2 separate regions of the Homo sapiens genome follow, and region 1 is linked to region 2. Evidence: promoter capture Hi-C in human tissues and cell types (Jung and others, 2019). All regions are on one chromosome and are shown on one strand. Each heading gives the region's core, a stretch centred on a gene start or on the middle of the fragment in contact. The rest is flanking DNA. Distances are from core to core; before and after follow the strand shown.

Region 1 (6,525 bases), core at 3,395-5,894, 120 kb after region 2:
GGGGCTGGACCCTCTGCTGCTGGTGATGACCTGTGTTGACACTTTCATTCTTCCAGCAAATATTTATTGTGTGCCAGTGATGTGCCAGGCTCAGTTGCAGATACCAGGGACACAGTACTGGGCAAAGCAGAAGTGGTCTGTGCCTTCTTGAAATTTGCACCCAGTTCCTTGTTCCACTGAGGAGGCCTGGAGACCAGAAGGGGTAGTGCTTGCCCAGGGTCATGCCTATCTGGTCGGAGGTAGAACCCCAGTCTCTGGTCTTTCCTTCCTCACCAACCAGAGCTGCCTCCCAATTCTTCTCCCCACTTTGGACTGAGCTATGGGGCACAAGGCAGGTTTTAAGTGTCTTCACTTTTGGCCAAGCCTAGGGCCCACCTTCCAGAGCCCAGATTCTTTTTTTTTTTTTTTTTTTTGAGTTTCGCTCTTGTTGCCCAGGCTGGAGTGCAATGGCACAATCTTGGCTCCCCGCAACCTCCGCCTCCTGGGTTCAAGTGATTCTCCTGCATCAGCCTCCCGAGTAGCTGGGATTACAGACATGCGCCACCATGCCTGGATAATTTTGTATTTTTAGTAGAGATGGGGTTTCTCCATGTTGGTCAGGCTGAGCTCGAGCTCCCAACCTCAGATGATCTGGCCGCCTCGGCCACCCAAAGTGCCGGGATTACAGGCGTGAGCCACCGCGCCCGGCCCCAGAGCCCACCTGTGATAAGGCCACAGCCCATGCCATGTGTGTGTCCTGAGGCATGAGCGTGGACACATGAGAATCTCAATCCCACATGCTTGGGGGAGCAGGCACAGTCCTTATTCATTCTGCAAATAGTCACTAAGCAGCCTCTGTGTGCCAGGCACTGGCGACACAGCCCCTGCCCCCTGAAGCTCACAGTCTAATAGTGGAGACATGCCTGCCATCAGATCATTGCAGCCTCAGCTCACAGCTGCCAGACACCTATGTGTGGAGGGCAGCAGGGACACAGAAGGGGAAGGGGTCGGTTTTACTTGGGGACAGAGACTGTCACACACTGTGTCACAGAGAACCTGAGTCCGTAAAATCGAGGGATTCTTGCCAATCAGGAAGGGTATTCAGAGCCAAAGGGGAAGTCTAGGCAGAGGCGGGGAGGCGTGAAGGAGCCAGCTCAGTGAGCAGAGATGGCCTGGCTTCTCTCATATCCCAGGAGGCAGGGGCTGCAGAGAGAGCGATTCTTGCAGGCTTAGGGGAGACCAGAGCATGGGGGAGGGAAGACAGGGTTTAGTGGGGAGAGAGGAGGCATGGTGGACAACAGAGGTCAGGCTGCAATGACCCCTATCTACTAGTAAGAGCGGCTACCAGGACCTCTGCTTAGGATAGTCCTGCTGTGCCTGGTGGTGGTGGGCAGGGGGCACAGCCAGCTTGACAGGAGGGCTAGTCCATGCTGGAGAGGAGACTGCTGGGCTGAGCCCTCCCCCACCCCATATAGGCAGCAATAAGGACTGACTCCTTGGACGTTCAGGGTCTGGGCAGCCGGGAAGACCTGCTGGCAGAGGTGAGTGGGCCCTCCCCGCCCCTGGCCCGGGCCTACTCTTTCTGGGGCCAGTCAAGTACCCAGGCACAGCAGCACTCCCGCAGCCACAGCAAGATCTCCAAGCACATGACCCCGCCAGCCCCTTGCCCAGGCCCAGAACCCAACTGGGGCAAGGGCCCTCCAGAGACCAGAAGCAGCTTAGAGTTGGACACGGAGCTGAGCTGGATTTCAGGAGACCTCCTGCCCCCTGGCGGCCAGGAGGAGCCCCCATCCCCACGGGACCTGAAGAAGTGCTACAGCGTGGAGGCCCAGAGCTGCCAGCGCCGGCCTACGTCCTGGCTGGATGAGCAGAGGAGACACTCTATCGCCGTCAGCTGCCTGGACAGCGGCTCCCAACCCCACCTGGGCACAGACCCCTCTAACCTTGGGGGCCAGCCTCTTGGGGGGCCTGGGAGCCGGCCCAAGAAAAAACTCAGCCCGCCTAGTATCACCATAGACCCCCCCGAGAGCCAAGGTCCTCGGACCCCGCCCAGCCCTGGTATCTGCCTCCGGAGGAGGGCTCCGTCCAGCGACTCCAAGGATCCCTTGGCCTCTGGCCCCCCTGACAGCATGGCTGCCTCGCCCTCCCCAAAGAAAGATGTGCTGAGTCTCTCCGGTTTATCCTCTGACCCAGCAGACCTGGACCCCTGAGTCCTGCCCCACTTTCCCACTCACCTTTCTCCACTGGGTGCCAAGTCCTAGCTCCTCCTCCTGGGCTATATTCCTGACAAAAGTTCCATATAGACACCAAGGAGGCGGAGGCGCTCCTCCCTGCCTCAGTGGCTCTGGGTACCTGCAAGCAGAACTTCCAAAGAGAGTTAAAAGCAGCAGCCCCGGCAACTCTGGCTCCAGGCAGAAGGAGAGGCCCGGTGCAGCTGAGGTTCCCGACACCAGAAGCTGTTGGGAGAAAGCAATACGTTTGTGCAGAATCTCTATGTATATTCTATTTTATTAAATTAATTGAATCTAGTATATGCGGGATGTACGACATTTTGTGACTGAAGAGACTTGTTTCCTTCTACTTTTATGTGTCTCAGAATATTTTTGAGGCGAAGGCGTCTGTCTCTTGGCTATTTTAACCTAAAATAACAGTCTAGTTATATTCCCTCTTCTTGCAAAGCACAAGCTGGGACCGCGAGCACATTGCAGCCCCAACGGTGGCCCATCTTCAGCGGAGAGCGAGAACCATTTTGGAAACTGTAATGTAACTTATTTTTTCCTTTAACCTCGTCATCATTTTCTGTAGGGAAAAAAAAAAGAAAAAGAAAAAATGAGATTTTACAAGTGAAATGGAACCTTTTTATATATACATACATACATATCTATCTATCTATCTATATATATATAAAATAAAGTAATTTTCCTAAATAAAAAGCTAATCACGGTCCAGAGTAAAAGCAAAAGGGATGGAGAGTTAGGCACGTCCAGATGGCATTGATGAGAGAGAGATCCTGGAGATGGGGAGTGGGCGGCGGGGAGGGAAGCTTCAGGGCTGCCTCTTTGTGTGTGTATGAGTGTGTATGTGTTTGTGTATATGAGTGCGTGTGTGTATATGAGTGTGAGAGTGTGTGTGTCTGAGAGTGAGAGAACCTGAACCCCTTGCTGTGGAAGGCTGCACCTCTAGCCTGCCCTCCCCAGCCGTGAAGGAGAGGAGGAGCCCCTCCGCCTGGTGCAGGCTGGGGAGGCAGGGTCTCTTCTGCTGCTATCAAAGCTTTACAGCTTCCTCTAGCTAGGCAGCTCAGTGAATGGGAGTAATTCCAGATTAACTCTTATTTCTGCTGACAGCTATCAGCCGCACATTGAAAGCTGGAAATTGGCATAATGAAGCTGTTTTGGTTAATGGGGCCGACTGAGGCTGGGGGAGGTTGCCTCAGAGGCTGCAGATCTGGATCTGTGGGTTGGTGGGGGAGGGGGGAAGTGTTTCTGGGTTTTCCTTCCTGAAGCTTCAGCACGGATTTGCCACACTTCTGGCTGGATGCGTGACCTGAGCTGTCTGGACTTCAGCCTCCTGCCTTGGGGGCGGGCTTAGCTGACTGGCATTACAGGCACTGTCCGATGGGGACCTCGTCCACCTGCCCGCAATGGAATTAAACCGTGTCAACGGAGTGGGCTGTGCTTCCTGAGGATGAGAGTCCAGGGCTGGGCGTCCAGAGGCAACCTCCTGGTGGAGGTGGTAGGGTCAGAGGCCAGGTGCTGAGTGGGGAGCTGGCCCCCTGGGCGGTGATGAGCGAGCGCTCAAGATGTTTACATGCACTGCTGCTGCTGCCTGCCTAGCGGGAGCCAGTGGAGGAGGGAGGTGTGAAGGTGGCCAGGGGCAGGCAGACAGGAAGAGGGGGAGTGGCGTGGCCCAGGCCACCTGTCTGGTGCTACTGCAGACAATATTCTCTTGTCTGAAATCTTGGTGCCAAGAGGTGGTGACCATGGGTCCAGCCAGCCTGTCACCTAGCCACCTCCCAAACATCTGTCCCAATCCCACTCCCTTGAACAGCCCCCTCCCCTCGCCCCCAGGGCCTTCAAACCCCAGGATTGGATTGGGTTTTTGAAACCTCAGTGGCAACGCTCGCTCACAAACCGTCTGATCCGGTCAACTGGGAGCTGGGGGCACCAGGCTGCCGGGCGAGTGGACCTGGAGGCGTTGTCCAGCATTGTTTTCTAAGCTGGGTGAGAGCTTTTCTCATTGCTCTTTTGGACAGAACTCATACCGCTCCTTGAAGCCAAAGCCTGGTTTTATCCTTTTAGGGTGTGCAATAATGTCAAACTTTTTCCTCTGGCCTCCTTGGGTGGGGAGAGGGAGTGCTTGTAGGAGCTGCCATTTAAGATAAAAAAAGCAAAGCTGTACAAAATTCCTAGAGTTCTGTCACCTGGATCTGCAGACTAAGCTTTTATATTTTTGTAGAATTCTATAGCTGTCTATTCCCTAATGACGTTGGAGGGTATGGGGAGGGGGTTCTGGGATCTTTCATTCTCCTAGTGGTTAGAAGATTCTGGGTCAAGGTGAAGCCAGAGAGCTGGACTCCTACCCCTCCCCACTCTTCCAGCACCCCCTCTCCCCGCTCCCGACCACCAGCCCAGCAGCACTAGAGTACTGGAGAGTTGCTTAGGTTGAGTCTTAGCATGCCTGGTTCTTTGTGCGTTCCTCTTCCCCTGGCCTCCTCTTCCCAGTAGGGACCAAGGAATTTGGGGTGAACTTACTATGCTTTTGGGTTGCTCTGTAGAGATCTGCAGGGACCAGCCCAGTGAAAACAAAAAGGTTCCCCTATTCCCTCCCCAGCAGCCCTCTCTGTGGCCTGGAGGGTTTCTCTGGAAGAGGGCAGTGCCTGGAGGGGAGCCTCTGGATAGTGATGTGGAAATATTAACAACAGAGTCAAAGCGGGTATTTTGGGGTAGTCGGGGAGAAAACTGTGACCTCTCCCCCCAATGATGTAAAATCTTTATCAATGATGGAAACTGTTGTGTCTCATTAAAAGGGTTTTGAGGTGGAAAAGCAGCTGCCGCTGGATCTTAATAATAATATCAAACTGCTAACCTCATGCTGCTTGTCTGGGTGGTTATTTGATGCTGCTCTGGGATACATAAGGGGTGGGGGTAGGGGGTGGAGAAAATGAAGGAGGCTGGGATGGGGAGTGGATGGTGGGGGCAGCAGGTCTTGGATGAGGACTCCAGGGGCAGAATGGAACTGGCTAGGGGCTTCAGGGATGTGGGGGCTTTTAGAATTAGGAATATCTACCCTGGTGCCTTTGTCCTCAGCCTTCCCCTTCGGGGTTCAGAAGAAATTGTGACAGCGGCTGTAGGCCCCCACCTCAAGCTTGGCTGTTTCTGCTTCCTCCACCCCCAAGACTCCAGGAAAAGGTCTGTGTGGGGGTGGGGACTGGGAAGAGGAGTGAGCTGAGCTGGGGATAAAAACAAATCTGAGGCTCATATGCAGTCTCTCACTCCTCAACACACCCTAGCAAGGGAAGTCTGATTGCTATTTCTCCATGAGGCAGCGGGGTTCAGAGAGGTTAAGTGAATTGCCCGTGGTCACACAGCCAGGAGATGGCAGAGCTGAGATTTGACCCTACGTCTGGCCAACCTCCAGCCCACACTACTCCTGTCTCTTCTCAGTGTGGAGGAAATGGGGCACGATGGGAAGAATCCTGCTCAAAAAATGACTTGCTGGTGGGCGCTTTTCCAAAGTAGTCACATTCACGTTCATACAAATATGCACACGTGTTCCCCGCATGGCAAACTCAGAGGCTTAGAGAGGCCCCCAGCCTCCCACCTGGTGGGCCACCAGCTTTTGGCCATAGGGAATGGTGGTGAGAGGAGTTCAATCACAGGAGAAGGCATCCCTCAGCTCCAGGCGCTTGTCCAAGAGCTGGCCAAGGGTAGCTCTGCAATCACTGTGGGTTCCCAGGCTCCACCCTTCCGCAGCATAACGCTGCCCTTGAACCCCATGGTACCTGTTCTTTTCCCCATCCCGCCTTCTTCTCTCTTCCTCTCCTCTAACCCTGCCCTACCTAAACCTCACCCACTTTCCAAACAGCTTTCACTCCTATCTCCACCCTAGTCCCCACCTGCCACAGCCTGGTGCCCCATGGCCTATTTTCTCTTCCCTTGGGCCAGCTGAGCAGCCCGTGGAGTGGGGCTGGCAACAGCAGTGCAATGAGGGCATCAGACACCAGGTGGCGGCACAGGGCACCCTCACCTGGTGCCACCTGGTGCCCCTCCTGCAAAGGGACCAAGCCAGGGAGAGGGCACCAACACCGATGGACACCTTCTAGGGACAGGTGCCCTGTATAACCTCAGAAGGAGGAAGCAGGCCTGCAGGGCCCAGTGAAGGACTTTGTGTATGGAGAAGCCCAAACAGGAATCCCCGCCATCTGAGTGCTGAGCCCACGGTGTTCAATATCCCTTGGCTAAAGCTAGGAGACTCAGGGCTAATCCAGGACAATGGTTGCCAGGAGGGAAACGAACTCTCAAAGCAAGTTGAGTTGTGGCCTGGAGT
Region 2 (5,874 bases), core at 3,375-5,874:
ATGCATTGTTTAAGGGGTGCAGCTGCCAGATGTGAGTGGGTGAGGGCAGATGTGAGGGGCATCAGCCAGCTATGTGTGGGGGTGGTCAGACCTGGTTGGGGAGGCACAATGGAAACAATAGGGGAGCAGGCCAGGTGGGTATGCGAAAGTGAGACAGAGTGGCAGGATGAACCGGGAGGGGGATCAGATGTGAGGGGCTGGAGAATAGATGACCCCGAGCCTCAGTCTTTAGGAGGGTGGCTGTCCCTGGGAAATGGATGATGCGGTCTGTGGAGGAAATGCGCTTTCTATTTAGGGAGGCTGTTTAGGAGTAGCTGACGACATGCTCAGCACCTGGATGGGTGGAAATAAACAGAGACATGAAGCAATAATTTATGCCGTGTCCTCTGTCAACCTAGCCACCACCTCCTCCTCCCTGGGCTCCAGGAAGTTGCTCAGAGTTGTGGCGCTGGGAGGAGACTGCGGGAGCTATGCTGGTGAAGCGATGCTGTCATCTGAGCTTGTGCTTTACACACACTGGGCTTTTTTTTTTTTTTTTTTTTTTGAGACAGAGTCTTGCTCTGTCACCCTAGGCTGAAGTGCAGTGGCGCAATCACAGCTCACTGCAGCCTCGACCTCCCAGGCTCAAGCAATGCATCCACCTCACTCTCTTGAGTAGCTAGGACCACAAGGGCATGGCACCACATCTGGCTAATTTTTAGAAATTTTTTTGTAGAGACGGGGTCTCACTATGTTGCCCGGGCTGGTCTCAAACTCCTGGGCTCAAGTGATCCTCCTGCCTCAGCCTCCCGAAGTGTTGGGATTATAGGCACAAGCCATCATGCCCAGCCCCCTCCAGGCCTTTGTACCTTCTGTGTCCTCACCTGGAGTACCTGCCCCCTGAACTACCCATTGAACTCTTTATTTAGTGGCCCACCTCCTCTAAGAAGTGCTACCTCCTCTAAGAAGGCCCCCCTCATATCCAGTCTGTGGTTCCTAAATTGCAGCTAATGACTACCCCATGAGCTCACACATTAGAGTTGGAAATCTACTTTCAAATGACCCCACTTTGTGTCTAAAGCACTCTGACCTTCTTCTACCCCCACCCCAGTCGCACATCAGTGAGCTTCAGGGAATCTCTGGAATTGAATACAAAGTCATGTGCAAAATCAGATGTGCAAATGTATGGATAAACAAAATACAGTATACCCATAAACGAAATATTATTCAGCCACGAAAAGGAATGGAGTCACTGATACGTGTTAAGTGAAAAAAAAAAAAACAGACAGAAAAGGCCAAATATTGTATGATTCCATTGATATGAAGTATCAAGAATAGGCAAATCAGTAAAGACAGAAAGGAGCTTAGCGATTGTTAGGGGATGGGGGTCGGGGCTGGGGAATGACTGGTAGAGGGTTTCCTTTGGGGATGATGAAAACATTCTGGATGTAGGTAGTGTAGGTAGTGGTGATGGTGGCACTACATTGTGTGTGTACTAAATGTCACTCAGTTGAATATATTAAAATGGTGACTTTTATGTTATGTGTATTTTACAACAGTTTTAAAAAAAGTCAAATGCACGTTTCTCAGGAGAAGATTCCTAGGTTTGATTGGCTTCTCAAAAGGTGAAGCAGCTCTGATCTGGTCTGGACCCCTTCATGTCATGATGCAGATGGTGATACTGGGACACAGACAGGGGGTGAGACCTGTCCAAGGTCACTCAGGGGCTGGTGGCAGAGCCCAGCCAGGTTGCATGCCTGCCTGACCACATACTCCCCTACCTGCTTCTTCCCTTGTCCTTTGGTCACCAAACCCTCCCGTCACAATCCCCAAGCCTCTGTCCTGCTCCCAAACATGCCACCCACAAGCTGTGTAACTTCCCAAAGTTAAAAGGCCTTCTTCCTGAAACTGGGTGCACGGATTAGAGTTTCATGAGCGTTTGTCTTTTGCTCTAGAGTGGACTCTGAGCTCCTAGAGGGCAAGAGGAAATGTTTCTTATTTTCCTCCATATCTTACAGAGCTTCTGGGACAGCCACGGAGGTGAGCCATTCCTGTCTCCCTTCAAGAAAGAACTTGCCATTCACCCTCAAGGAGGGCAGTTAGCTGACAACTTCTAACAAACATTCTTTGCCCAGAGGACATGCTGGGTTGGCCAAGACTTTGTTAGATCTGCAGCACAGTCTGAGGCTCTCCCAGCCCTTTCCTGCTTCCTCTCCCTCACCGGCCTTGCCACTACCCCCTCTCTCCGCAATAAACCTCTTGCGGTCCTATGTTCATCTCAGTGCTTGCTTCCTGGAGGACCCACATGGCACAGCACCTAGCCTGCTGGATCATAAGTGCTCAGTCGCGAAGTAAACGGAACTGGGGATTCTCTAGAGGGTAGAGGGAAGCCAGAGCCTGGGCCTCGGAGAGCAGGAGAGGGGCTGTCCGTGGAGGATGCCTCAGTCATAAGGAGAGCAAGGTCTAGAGCAGTGTGAAGAAGGGGCCATGGCCCTGGAGCAGGACCCAGCAACGGGCAACACACAGGGAACTCAGGGATTCACCAGCACTGCTGGCATCGTCTCTAGCTCCTCCGCTGTCTGGGGCAGCTCTTGCAAACTCAGAAATGTCCCAGGAGACAGGGTTCAAAGAGCCCTGGCCTTGGACTTTAGAAAACCAGGTTCAATTTGTGCTTCCCGCTAGTCAGGTGACATTACACCCTTCTCTCTGGAGCTCAGTTTCTCCGTTTGTAAAATGGGCTTATAATGTGTCCCCTCCCTTCAACCCCAGCATGATTTTGAGAATTGACTGAGAAGATACTACAGTTTATGGAGGGCACCCTGTTTCGTAGTTTAAATGCACACTCAGGCCAGGTGAGGTGGCTCATGCTTGTAATCCCAACACTTTGAGAGGCCAAGGCGGGAGGATCGCTTAAGCCCACGAGTTCAAGACCAGCCTGAACAACATAGCAAGACCCTGTCTCTACAAAAAATTTAATAATTAGCTGGGTGCAGTGGCACATGCCTGTAGTCCCAGCTACTCGGAAGGCTAAGGCAGCAGGATCATTTAAGCTCAGGAGTTTGAAGCTGCAGTGAGCTATGATTGTGCCACTGCACTCCAACCTGGGCAACAGAGTGAGATACTCGCTAAGAAAAAGAAATACATACATATTCATTTAACCCTGGCAGTGGCCTTGTGAGAGCAGCATTATGACCTCCATTTTATGTATGTATATATGTATGTATGGATGTATGAGATGGGGATCTCACTTTGTTGCCCAGGCTGGAGTACAGTGGTGCAATCAGAGCTCACTGCAGCCTGGACCTCCTGGGCTCAAGCAATCTTCCTGCCTTAGCCTCCAGAGTAGCTAAGACTACAGGTGTGGGCCACCAAAGCCAGCTAATTAAAAAAAAATTTTTTTAGGCTAGGCACGGTGGCTCACGCCTGTAATCCTAGCACTTTGGGAGGCCGAGGCGGGCAGATCACGAGGTCAGGAGTTCGAGACCAGCCTGACCAACTGGTGAAACCCCATCTCTACTAAAAATACAAAACTTAGCCAGGCATGGTGGCACTCGTCTGTAATCCCAGCTACTCAGGAGGCTGAGGCAGGAGAATCGCTTGAACCTGGGAGGCAGAGGTTGCAGTGAGCCGAGATGGCACCACTACACTCCAGCTTGGGCACAGAGCAAGACTCCGTCTCAAAAAAAAAAAAAAAAAAATTTTTTTTTTTTTTTAGAATGGAGTCTCCCTACGTTGCTCAGGTCAATTTTGAACTCCTGGCCTCAACCAATCCTCCTGCCTCAGCCTTCTAAAGCACTAGGATTGTAGGCCTGAACCACTGTGCCCAGCAGAGAAAACCGGCTCTCTAGGTCAAGGCATTGGCTCAAGAACACACAGCTAACAAGCCGACATAGCTGGGATTAGAACCCAATTGTCTGGCTCTAGAACCCCTTCACTATTTGAGGTACAATTTACTGCCTGACTACTAGTGCTAAACTTTGGGTTGGGGGCAGGGCCTGAGGCAGCTCCTGCTCTCATACATTCTGAGAGCCAGTTTGACAATAGGCAACTACACAAAAAACCGAAATAATCCCAGAATGCCTCAGGGCTCCAGGGGAAGGCGAAAAAAGCGGGTGCGTTTATAAACTTAAAATAATCAGAGGCAGCATCTCCAAGGACTGTGAGAATGCCCCAAGTCAGGGCAAAAGTTTTGGCTGGTTTGGGAAGTGATGAAAGGCCAAAGTGGCTGCAGCGAGCGTGGACCCGGGAGGTCTCCAGGCGCGTTGGTGCGAGTTGGGGACGGCAGGCAGGGACACCTAAAACCTACGGTACGCCACGAAGGGGTTTCAGCACGTCCTGAAAGGCCCGATCCCCCCCCAGAACCGCTGTGAGGGGGGCAGAGGGAGGTCCCTCGACAGGATGTGGCCTTAGTCGAGGAAGGCGGGAAGCAGGGGCTGGCACCCCCGACGCCCCACCCGCCCCCCGTGGCCTAGCAGCAGGGCGGGGCGAGGCGGGTCATGCACCCCTACCAGCCAGCCACTCCCACCCAGCCCTCGGCTCCCGCAACTCGCGGGGGTCCTCGCCCGGGTCCCCCGCCCCGCCCCGCCCGGCTGGTGACGTCACGGCGCTCGTCGGCGCCGCCTGTGGCGTCACAGGCCGGGCCCGCAGGGCTTTCTAGGGGTCCGTCGCTCTTGAAGCCGCCGGCGGCGGGCGCGTGCGCGGCCCGATGAAGAAGGAGGTTTCCAAGCCGTCTCCGCCCAAGTTGATCGGTGGATGCGCGCCCCCGCGCGGGGCACCGGTTGCTGTGGACGCAGTGGCGGCCGTTGGCTGGCGGGTGCGGCGCAGCCTCGGTGTCTCTGGGCCGGCGGTGCAGGGCAACGTTTCATGGTGCCGGGCGGCACCATGAAGTCTCTAAAGAAGGATTCCCGCCTCAGAATAACTCCGACCAGATTATTAGAGGCCTCAGAGAATGTCAAAGGTTGGCGCTGGCTGCCTTGGGCGCTCGGGAGAACCCGAGAGGGGAAGCGGTCCCCGGAAAGAGTTCAGGACACGGGGCCTGGAGGATGGGGATGGCACCAGGGATGGAGGAAAGATCACGGGGAAGTGGGGTACTGGGCATAGGACCCTTAGGGATGGGGGGCAAGGCAGGAAGAGCCTACAGCGCACTGGGCCTTGGGGATGGGGACATAGGAAGTGGGAGACTGACAGAGGGGCCTCAGGGACCACTGGCTGGGGAGATGGCCTTGCGCTACCTCTAACCACATCTTAGGGTGGCATGCAGGAGGCAGGATCCCCGGACTGGATGAAGTGCAGAAGAGCCAGGAAAGAGTTTAAGGGTAGAAGGGCCAGGAATTGGGGTCCTTGGGAAGAGGAAAGAATGAAGTGTTGAAACCAGCCACCTTGATGGGATTATTTGGTAGAGGAGGGTCGGGGAGCGGGGCAGGCGTCACTTAGGATTCCTGCTGGAAAAACCCAGAAGAAAGGCCTTGCTTGGCTAGTTCTCTTTTTGACTGCCTTTTCCTACCACGTGCACTTTCCAGCTGGATGACACTTATCCAGCTCCTTTAGCCTGGAAAGAATCGCTAGATATGACTGCTTCCTACCCTCTACAGCTTTCTTCTGGTTGCACCTGGGAGAGCCACAGGGCGTCTGATAGCGGACTGACTTCCATGGACATGTTCTCACTTGCAACCCACCCCCTTTTGATCTTTTTTGGCTGTTTCCATTTATTTATTTTTAAATTTAATTTTTAGCTTTTTTTTTCTGTGTGTGTGTGTGTGTGTGTGTGTGTGTGTGTGTGTGTTTGTAAACAGGGCTCTCGCTGTGTTGCCCCAGCTAGTGTCAAATTCTTGGCCTCAAGCGATCCTCCTGCCTCGGCCTCACAGACTGCTAGGATTCCAGGCATGGACCACTGCG

What was found. Contacts are between HindIII fragments. The study calls those that stand out against the background at their distance.
Region 1: a fragment that was not itself captured here is called in contact with the fragment with the promoter of MYCBPAP in region 2 in 10 of the 25 tissues and cell types used here (H1 embryonic stem cells, IMR-90 fibroblasts, bladder and 7 more).

The regions. Positions count from the first base shown.
Region 1 is chr17:50,624,563-50,631,087 of GRCh38, forward strand. It overlaps LOC101927253 (a long non-coding RNA gene), which reads right to left. Exons shown (of 2, transcript XR_243718.2): 2 at 2,468-2,778. CACNA1G (calcium voltage-gated channel subunit alpha1 G) reads left to right here. Exons shown (of 38, transcript NM_018896.5): 38 at 1,455-2,912. The coding sequence ends at 2,189. Among named protein-coding and RNA genes, the nearest start is that of ABCC3, 7.1 kb to the right of the region's middle. RefSeq lists an enhancer at 987-1,759. The HindIII fragment of the contact is 3,018 bases long and covers 3,136-6,153 here.
Region 2 is chr17:50,503,815-50,509,688 of GRCh38, forward strand. It overlaps MYCBPAP (MYCBP associated protein), which reads left to right and starts at 4,625. Exons shown (of 19, transcript NM_032133.6): 1 at 4,625-4,936. The coding sequence starts at 4,861. RefSeq lists a silencer at 4,331-4,620 and enhancers at 4,641-4,700, 4,721-4,850. The HindIII fragment of the contact is 18,604 bases long and covers 1-5,874 here.